Linked DNA regions of Homo sapiens: region 1 is linked to region 2. Evidence: promoter capture Hi-C in human tissues and cell types (Jung and others, 2019). All regions are on one chromosome and are shown on one strand. Each heading gives the region's core, a stretch centred on a gene start or on the middle of the fragment in contact. The rest is flanking DNA. Distances are from core to core; before and after follow the strand shown.

Region 1 (5,003 bases), core at 377-2,876, 83 kb after region 2:
GTACAGACTACAAGGTGAGACTATACTTGGACTTTCTCTGGATAGGAACAAAACAGAAAGAGTACAAGCAAATGTGGGTGATGAATCATAGGCAACAAAGAGACCAAAGGTGCAGAAGGCCAGATGACATTGGGTCTTGTAGGTCACAGAAAATAAGTACTTGGGATTTCATTCCCAGTGAGATGGGAAATCACTGGAAAACTTTGATCAGGATGTGATGTGATCTTATTTTTAAAAGGATCACTCTGGATGTTCCATTGAGAGCACACTGTAATGCACAGGTGAAAGCAAGAAGGCTACTGCAAGTCTGGGGAAGTTCTCAAACTTGACTTGCATCAGAAGCACCTGTGATTTGTTAAATCACAGATTAATCATACAAAAACCTGTACACAATTGCTCACAGCAGTTTTGCTTGTAACAGCTAAAAATTGGGAGCCCAGATGTCATCCTTGTACATCCATCCCGTGGAATACTACTCAGCAATAAAAAGGAAAAAACTATTTTGATAAATCTACAGAGAATTATGCTGACTGAAAAAAGCCAAACCCAAAAGCTGTCTGATTCCATTTATAGAACTTGCTTGACATGACAAAATTATAAAAGTAGTCAACAGATTTCCTGGTTGCCAGGGGTTAGCGGTAGGGGCAGGGTAGGAGGAGAAAGGTTGACTATATCCCACCATACAAGGGATCCTTGTGGTGATAGATGTTCTTTCTTGACTTCATCAATGTCAATATCCTGATGCTGACCACAGTTTTGCAAGTGTGAAAGGAAAATAAATCTTGGGACACCAAAATCACTAAGCTAAAGGGAAAAGTCAAGCTGGGAACTGCTTGGGACAAACCTGCCTTCCATTCTATTCAAAGTCATGCTTCTGTCCACTGAGATTAACATATATCTGATTGACTCATTTGGAAAGGCTAATCAGAAACTCAAAACAATGCAGCCATTTGTCTCTTATCTACCTGTGACCTGGAAGCTTCCTACCTCACTTCGAGTTGTCCCACCTTCCTGGACCAAACCACTATTTATCTTACATATATTGATTGAAGTTTTGTGTCTCCCTAAAATGTATAAAAACAAGCTGTGCCCCAACCACCTTGGACACATGCCATCAGGACCTCCTGAGGCTGTGTCACAGGTGCACGTCCTTAACTTTGGCAAAATAAACTTCCTAATTAACTGAGATCTGTCTCCGATAATTGGGGTTCACACAAGATATTACCATTGGGGGAAACTGTAAAGGATACAGGGATCTTTCTGTATCATTTCTTACACTGTATACAACTCTACAATTTTCTCAAAATATGCTTAAAATAATGTTTGAGGAAATGAAACACACAGGCATACCCACATTGCTGGGCTTCATCACCAGTTTCTGATTCAGGTCTGGAGTAAGACTTGAAAATGTGCATTTTAACAAGTTTCCAGGTGAAGCTAGTCTGGGACCAGCTATGAAAATCACTTGTTTAGAAAATAATATCCTGGGGCAGGTATTATTGTTCCTATCTTGTGGAAGAAACCTAAAGATTAAGTGACTTCAGCCAAGCGCGGTGGCTCACGCCTATAATCCCAGCACTTTGGGAGGCAGAGGCAGGAGGATAGCTTGGGCCCAGGAGTTTCAGACCTGCCTGGGCAACACAGAGGCCTTGTTCTCCCCACAACAGGAAAAAACAAAAGTGACTTCACCAAAGGTTCTAGAACTGACAGGGCCAGGACTTAAATCAGGTCCTACCAGCTCAGTGTTTTTCCATGAGCTAATCAAGGTCAGGAATAATCTCAATCATAAGGACTCTCTAGTGTCTAGCACAGAACAGAAATCAATAAATGCTTGAATTGTACTGTCCTAAAAACTAAAACTCATAAAATGTGGGAGCTTAAACATTTCACAAACTTTATAATATATACATACACATTAAACTGTGTACTAGTCTCAGCTCTTAGGCTGTGCCCTGAAGAAGTGCTTAAACTCTGTTCCTAGCTTCCGTAGACCTGAGATCAGGGAGCTGGTTCCTTCCTACTTAATTCTGGATGCCTTATTTTAAAATCTTCTGAGGTTTTACAGATAGCTACAAGGTGTGAAAGGAAAATAAATCTCAGGACCCCCAAAATCACTAAGCCAAGAGAAAAGTCAAGCTGGGAACTGTCAGGCCAAACTTCCTCCTGTTTTATTTGTAAATAAGACAGCCACAAAGAAAAGAAGCTACATACCTCCCTCACAATTTGCCCACAGGAAATTTCTTGTGGACAAAGGACAGACAGAACTCAAAGTCATCCCTCTGAGACTCACCTGACACAAATGCATATGACTGCTTCCTCTGCACTATTTATGTAAAAATGCAGACTCATTGAGCCAGACTAAATTGTGTATTCAGGCTGACCAAGGACTCAAAAGAAAGCAACCTTTTGTCTCTTACCTACTTATAACCTGGAAGCCCCCACTTAGAGTTGTCCCGCCTTACCAGACCAAACCAATGTACATCTTAGACATACTGATTTATGTCTCACATCTCCCCAAAATGTATAAAAGCAAACTACGTACCCCGACCACCTTGGGCACACCTCCTCAGGACTTCCTGAGGCTGTGTCATGGGCGCATCCTTAACCTTGGCAAAATAAACTTTCTAAATTGACTGAAACCTGTCTCAGACATTTGGGGTTCACAAAGGTCATCCTTAAAAGAACACAACCAGATGGGGCGCAGTGCCTCACACCTGTAATCCCAGCACTTTGGGAGGCTGAGGCAGGCGCATCACAAGGTCAGGAGATCGAGACCATCCTGGCCAACACGGTGAAACCCCATCTCTACCAAAATACAAAATATTGGCCAACTGTAGTGGCATGCACCTGTAGTCCCAGCTACTCGGGAGACTGAGGCAGGGGAATCACTTGAACCCAGGAGGTGGAGGTTGCAGTGAGCCAAAATCACACCACTGTGCTCCAGCCTGGTGACAGAGCGAGACTCCATCTCAAAAAACAAAAAAATAAAAAATAAAAAAACCACAACCAGTTGTTTACCCTTCACATTACTATGTAATCAAAACAGATACCTGACACAGCTTTCTCAATTTCTGAAAATCCCAAGTGAGAAACAGAAGAAAAACGTATAAACAAAATACTTACTAAACAAAAATTCCCTGACAATGCACTTGGCAAAAAGGATTGGGGGGAACTACAAACTTAAGCAATTCTATGGAATTTTAATACAGTTTTCAGCAAAATTACACACGCCTAGATTCACAAAGATGCTGAAGCAGTTACGTTAAGTACTTACCAAAACTGATTTCCTGCAGTTAGCTCTCAAGAATTCCACTTTAAAATCCCTTTATGCAACAAGACACCACAATAGTCTTCTATGTCTCCATGGCAAAGGTAACAAGCCTTGAGGAAATAGGCTTAAATAGCTAAGAGGGTTTTACATTAGAAATAAGAACTTTCTGGTGATGGCAGCTCCCAGCACCTGAGAGGGATTATAGTCATGATCATGCCTAAACACTGGATGCTTAAAATATTCAACCCAATAGGCTCTTTCCAAACTGTCCGTTTCAGGTTCTACTTTCTTGTATTAGTAACAATGGCCAAACGTAGTAAATAACGCTATTTTGTTAGAAGAACGGAAAAAACTAAATAATAAAAGTAGGATTCAAATACAGGTGAAGGTCCCAGGAAACCAGTGTCTAGAACTGAAAACTAGTTTCCATTAATTAGCTGCCTTTCCTTCTACCAGAAAATAGTGCTACTATTCCATGTAGCTCTCCACGGGCTCTTGCCCAGCCAGCTCTAGTTTCCTAATATAACTGAGGGAAACTTTAGCCTCACATTTAACCTACAAATAAATCACACAACTCTCCAGTGCCATTCCCACCCCCTAGCAACAGAGCCGCCAGGACCTTTATTTCTTGCAGTCAGAACTTTAATGCAGAGGAGGAAGTAACAGCTTGGTTTGTCACAAACAGAACTATCTGTATTCTTACTACCTCGGAATATCCTAGAAGGAGTTATTAATTCACTGCAAAGGGAAACTGTAATCCATATGTTAGGTCAATGGGCAGGAATAACTTGGAAAAATTTTTTTATATCGTGATCCACCCGCCCTGGCCTCCCAAAGTGCTGGGATTTACAGGCTTAAATAGCACCTAGGTACACACATAAATTCCCTGTTTTGAGAAAGTACCAAAAGGCTTAATTTTTACCTGATAATCCTAGCATGTTCAATTCAAAAAAGACTCAAGCATAACACTGTTAAAAACATTTATTCTGATACATTCTATCATAAGTTAGTACAAGTTCCACTCTGCTACAGATGCGTCTGTGAAGAGCCTTGTGCCATCCAACTAGTGACTGAATGATGTCCCATCTCTTATCCGAGCCAGAGCACACATCTTCCATGCTGTCCGCTGATTGCCTCCAAATCCAGAAGACCAAATAATCCTTTATCCCCAAAGTAGGCTAAAATGTTTGTGAAGAGAAGAAAGAAATTAAATTCCGAAATAAAAATCTTCTAGACATAACCTAAGACCTAGAAAATTTTATACATTTATGTTTGTTTCCTCATCTATCAAATTCAGTTGTGAAAGACAAGGATCAATCCCACTGAACAAACAAATTAAATATACAGAACTGTATTCAAATACACTTTTCTTTTGAGCACAGTTACCTATCATAAACAAAAACAAAAATGTGAGCAGACATAAAATGAAGTCAATCAAAAGGAAAACGATTACTGATTTCCATTAACAGGTAGGCCTGATAAACCCAGAAAACAAAGCTATCTCATTACTAGATGCAGTATCAGTAATACTAAAATAACATTTATTGAATGGTTTCTGTGCATTAGACACTGAGGAAAGTTCACAACTCCCAACTACGATCCCTATTTTAATGTGGGAATTGAGGCTCTGAGATAGTTATATATCATTTAAGTGGGTAGAGTGCGATGTGGCCTAAGTGCCCTTACAACCATTAAGTTCCTGGGGAGCAATTAGCCTCCACTTCCACCTCAA
Region 2 (4,749 bases), core at 1,522-4,021:
GCAAAGGAAGGAAGCTATCATTGTGGAATTGCACATGTCAGTTACATTAACGTTTTTGGAGCAAGGTAGAGCTCATCTCTCCCACAAGCAAATTCCAGCCCAAAGCATTGATACTAATAAAGTGCCATGCTGCGATGTGCAGGGGGCAGACAGTGTCTCCAAGCTCCCTACACACATGCCTTCCCACAGTTTGCCCTTTCTTGACCCCAGAAGCATCAGGCCCCTTCACCCTCGAGGGCCACTATCAGGAGTTTGAATTAATGGCAATCACCATGCACAGGGAAGGCTGTGGAATTCTGACATAAAAACACTTAGTGGAGGGCTTGGAAAAAGTCTAGTAGGAGCAAGACGCAAGCTGGACTAATTATCTAAAACAAGAGACCTGGTTTGGGGATCTTAATGTTCTCAAAAAAGAAAATTATTATTATTTTTCATTTTGCACTTTGTGCCATAAAACATTTTCAACAAAACATAGAATCTCATTTCTTTTGAGGGAAAATGATTGGGAGACCAGCTCATTGCTGGCACAGAGGCCTGGTTCATTCATAATTCCTTCATAGGCAAGACACCAGGTGAACCGATATAGCCGAGCTGGAAGAGCTCTCCAAGGCAGAGACTCTGAGCCAAGGAATGTTCAAAGAGCTAGCATGTATTGTGGGATTACTATGCGCCAGGAATTTTTTACACTGCATCACGTTCCATCTTCACAACAGCCCTAGAAAGGAAGAACTATTATTACCCCCGTTTTATAGGTGAATAAACAAGGGCACAGGTCCTTGATGTAACAGCCAGGATCAAACAGCTGGGAAGACGAGAAAACCTTTCCCAGGCTAGGATAACAGAGGATTTGGTTGAAAATACAGGCAATTAGGTGCTACCTCTGGGAAAAGGGGCCAGGAGAGGAAGGAGACACTTTTCCCTGCATGCCCTGATGTCCTATTTGAACATTTTATCATGAACACGAACTTCCTATTTAAAAAACACTTTTTATTGAAAAGATAAATCTGTGTGTTGTATTGTGTCACTCAGTTCAAGTACTTGAAATTTATTGAATTGTATTTTCTAAAAAATAGATAGTTGAGTAAAAGCAAGCTCACATTACATAGACGGATCACAGTGCACGGCTGCGGAGCTGGGAGCAGTGGCTTCGTTTCATGCAGGAAAGAGAACTTGGTTCAGGAGTGTCTACGTTGCTTAAGACAGGAGAGCACTAAAAATGAAACCATCCAGCCATCCTCCCCCATTTTCATTTTCACACCAAAGAATCCCACCGCGGCAGAGGACCACCGTCTCTGTTTAGACAATCGGTGAAGAATGGATGACCTCACTTTCCCCAACAGGCGGGTCCTGAAATGTTATGCACGAAACAAAACTTGAGTAAATGCCCAACAGAGGTCACTGTTTTATCGATCTTGAAGAGATCTCTTCTTAGCAAAGCAAAGAAACCGATTGTGAAGGTAACACCATGTTTGGTAAATAAGTGTTTTGGTGTTGTGCAAGGGTCTGGTTTCAGCCTGAAGCCATCTCAGAGCTGTCTGGGTCTCTGGAGACTGGAGGGACAACCTAGTCTAGAGCCCATTTGCATGAGACCAAGGATCCTCCTGCAAGAGACACCATCCTGAGGGAAGAGGGCTTCTGAACCAGCTTGACCCAATAAGAAATTCTTGGGTGCCGACGCGGAAGCAGATTCAGAGCCTAGAGCCGTGCCTGCGTCCGTAGTTTCCTTCTAGCTTCTTTTGATTTCAAATCAAGACTTACAGGGAGAGGGAGCGATAAACACAAACTCTGCAAGATGCCACAAGGTCCTCCTTTGACATCCCCAACAAAGAGGTGAGTAGTATTCTCCCCCTTTCTGCCCTGAACCAAGTGGGCTTCAGTAATTTCAGGGCTCCAGGAGACCTGGGGCCCATGCAGGTGCCCCAGTGAAACAGTGGTGAAGAGACTCAGTGGCAATGGGGAGAGCACTGGCAGCACAAGGCAAACCTCTGGCACAGAGAGCAAAGTCCTCACTGGGAGGATTCCCAAGGGGTCACTTGGGAGAGGGCAGGGCAGCAGCCAACCTCCTCTAAGTGGGCTGAAGCAGGTGAAGAAAGTGGCAGAAGCCACGCGGTGGCAAAAAGGAGTCACACACTCCACCTGGAGACGCCTTGAAGTAACTGCACGAAATTTGAGGATGGCCAGGCAGTTCTACAACAGCCGCTCACAGGGAGAGCCAGAACACAGAAGAACTCAGATGACTGGTAGTATTACCTTCTTCATAATCCCAGGCTTGGGGGGCTGCGATGGAGTCAGAGGAAACTCAGTTCAGAACATCTTTGGTTTTTACAAATACAAATTAACTGGAACGCTAAATTCTAGCCTGTTAATCTGGTCACTGAAAAAAAATTTTTTTTTTTTCAAAAAACATAGCTTTAGCTTATTTTTTTTCTCTTTGTAAAACTTCGTGCATGACTTCAGCTTTACTCTTTGTCAAGACATGCCAAAGTGCTGAGTCACTAATAAAAGAAAAAAAGAAAGTAAAGGAAGAGTGGTTCTGCTTCTTAGCGCTAGCCTCAATGACGACCTAAGCTGCACTTTTCCCCCTAGTTGTGTCTTGCCATGCTAAAGGACGTCACATTGCACAATCTTAATAAGGTTTCCAATCAGCCCCACCCGCTCTGGCCCCACCCTCACCCTCCAACAAAGATTTATCAAATGTGGGATTTTCCCATGAGTCTCAATATTAGAGTCTCAACCCCCAATAAATATAGGACTGGAGATGTCTGAGGCTCATTCTGCCCTCGAGCCCACCGGGAACGAAAGAGAAGCTCTATCTCCCCTCCAGGAGCCCAGCTATGAACTCCTTCTCCACAAGTAAGTGCAGGAAATCCTTAGCCCTGGAACTGCCAGCGGCGGTCGAGCCCTGTGTGAGGGAGGGGTGTGTGGCCCAGGGAGGGCTGGCGGGCGGCCAGCAGCAGAGGCAGGCTCCCAGCTGTGCTGTCAGCTCACCCCTGCGCTCGCTCCCCTCCGGCACAGGCGCCTTCGGTCCAGTTGCCTTCTCCCTGGGGCTGCTCCTGGTGTTGCCTGCTGCCTTCCCTGCCCCAGTACCCCCAGGAGAAGATTCCAAAGATGTAGCCGCCCCACACAGACAGCCACTCACCTCTTCAGAACGAATTGACAAACAAATTCGGTACATCCTCGACGGCATCTCAGCCCTGAGAAAGGAGGTGGGTAGGCTTGGCGATGGGGTTGAAGGGCCCGGTGCGCATGCGTTCCCCTTGCCCCTGCGTGTGGCCGGGGGCTGCCTGCATTAGGAGGTCTTTGCTGGGTTCTAGAGCACTGTAGATTTGAGGCCAACGGGGCCGACTAGACTGACTTCTGTATTTATCCTTTGCTGGTGTCAGGAAGTTCCTTTCCTTTCTGGAAAATGCAGAATGGGTCTGAAATCCATGCCCACCTTTGGCATGAGCTGAGGGTTATTGCTTCTCAGGGCTTCCTTTTCCCTTTCCAAAAAATTAGGTCTGTGAAGCTCCTTTTTGTCCCCCGGGCTTTGGAAGGACTAGAAAAGTGCCACCTGAAAGGCATGTTCAGCTTCTCAGAGCAGTTGCAGTACTTTTTGGTTATGTAAACTCAATGGCTAGGATTCCTCAAAGCCATTCCAGCTAAGATTCATACCTCAGAGCCCACCAAAGTGGCAAATCATAAATAGGTTAAAGCATCTCCCCACTTTCAATGCAAGGTATTTTGGTCCTGTTTGGTAGAAAGAAAAGAACACAGGAGGGGAGATTGGGAGCCCACACTCGAATTCTGGTTCTGCCAAACCAGCCTTGTGATCTTGGGTAAATTCCCTACCACCTCTGGACTCCATCAGTAAAATTGGGCGTGGACTAGGTGATCTCATAGATCCTTCCTGCTGGAACATTCTATGGCTTGAATTATATTCTCCTAATTATTGTCAAAATTGCTGTTATTAAGTATCTACTGTGTGCCAGGCACTTTAAATAAATATTGTGTCTAATCTTCAAAACAAATTTGCAAGGAAGGTTTTTGGAGATAAGGAAACTGAGACTCAGGATTAAGTAACACACCTAAAGTCACAGGTGAGCTTGGAACTGAACCCAAGTGTGCCCCCACTCCACTGGAATTTGCTTGCCAGGATGCCAATGAGTTGTAGCTTCATTTTTCTTAGAGACTTTCCTGGCTGTGGTTGAACAATGAAAAGGCCCTCTAGTGGTGTTTGTTTTAGGGACACTTAGGTGATAACAATTCTGGTATTCTTTCCCAGACATGTAACAAGAGTAACATGTGTGAAAGCAGCAAAGAGGCACTGGCAGAAAACAACCTGAACCTTCCAAAGATGGCTGAAAAAGATGGATGCTTCCAATCTGGATTCAATGAGGTACCAACTTGTCGCACTCACTTTTCACTATTCCTTAGGCAAAACTTCTCCCTCTTGCATGCAGTGCCTGTATACATATAGATCCAGGCAGCAACAAAAAGTGGGTAAATGTAAAGAATGTTATGTAAATTTCATGAGGAGGCCAACTTCAAGCTTTTTTAAAGGCAGTTTATTCTTGGACAGGTATGGCCAGAGATGGTGCCACTGTGGTGAGATTTTAACAACTGTCAAATGTTTAAAACTCCCACAGGTTTAATTAGTTCATCCTGGGAAAGGTACTCTCAGGGCCTTTTCCCTCTCTGGCTGCCCCTGGCAGGGTCCAGGTCTGCCCTCCCTCCCTGCCCAGCTCATTCTCCACAGTGAGATAACCT

What was found. Contacts are between HindIII fragments. The study calls those that stand out against the background at their distance.
Region 1: a fragment that was not itself captured here is called in contact with the fragment with the promoter of IL6 in region 2 in 3 of the 25 tissues and cell types used here (H1 embryonic stem cells, IMR-90 fibroblasts and pancreas).

Annotation. Positions count from the first base shown.
Region 1 is chr7:22,808,737-22,813,739 of GRCh38, forward strand. It overlaps TOMM7 (translocase of outer mitochondrial membrane 7), which reads right to left. Exons shown (of 3, transcript NM_019059.5): 3 at 4,238-4,449. The coding sequence ends at 4,434. Among named protein-coding and RNA genes, the nearest start is that of TOMM7, 12 kb to the right of the region's middle. RefSeq lists an enhancer at 2,478-3,433. The HindIII fragment of the contact is 9,601 bases long and covers 1-5,003 here.
Region 2 is chr7:22,724,429-22,729,177 of GRCh38, forward strand. It overlaps IL6 (interleukin 6), which reads left to right and starts at 2,772. Exons shown (of 5, transcript NM_000600.5): 1 at 2,772-2,853; 2 at 3,016-3,206; 3 at 4,265-4,378. The coding sequence starts at 2,835. IL6-AS1 (IL6 antisense RNA 1) reads right to left here and starts at 3,192. Exons shown (of 2, transcript NR_131935.1): 1 at 3,140-3,192; 2 at 967-2,277. RefSeq lists a silencer at 2,187-2,236 and an enhancer at 2,222-3,421. The HindIII fragment of the contact is 12,372 bases long and covers 1-4,749 here.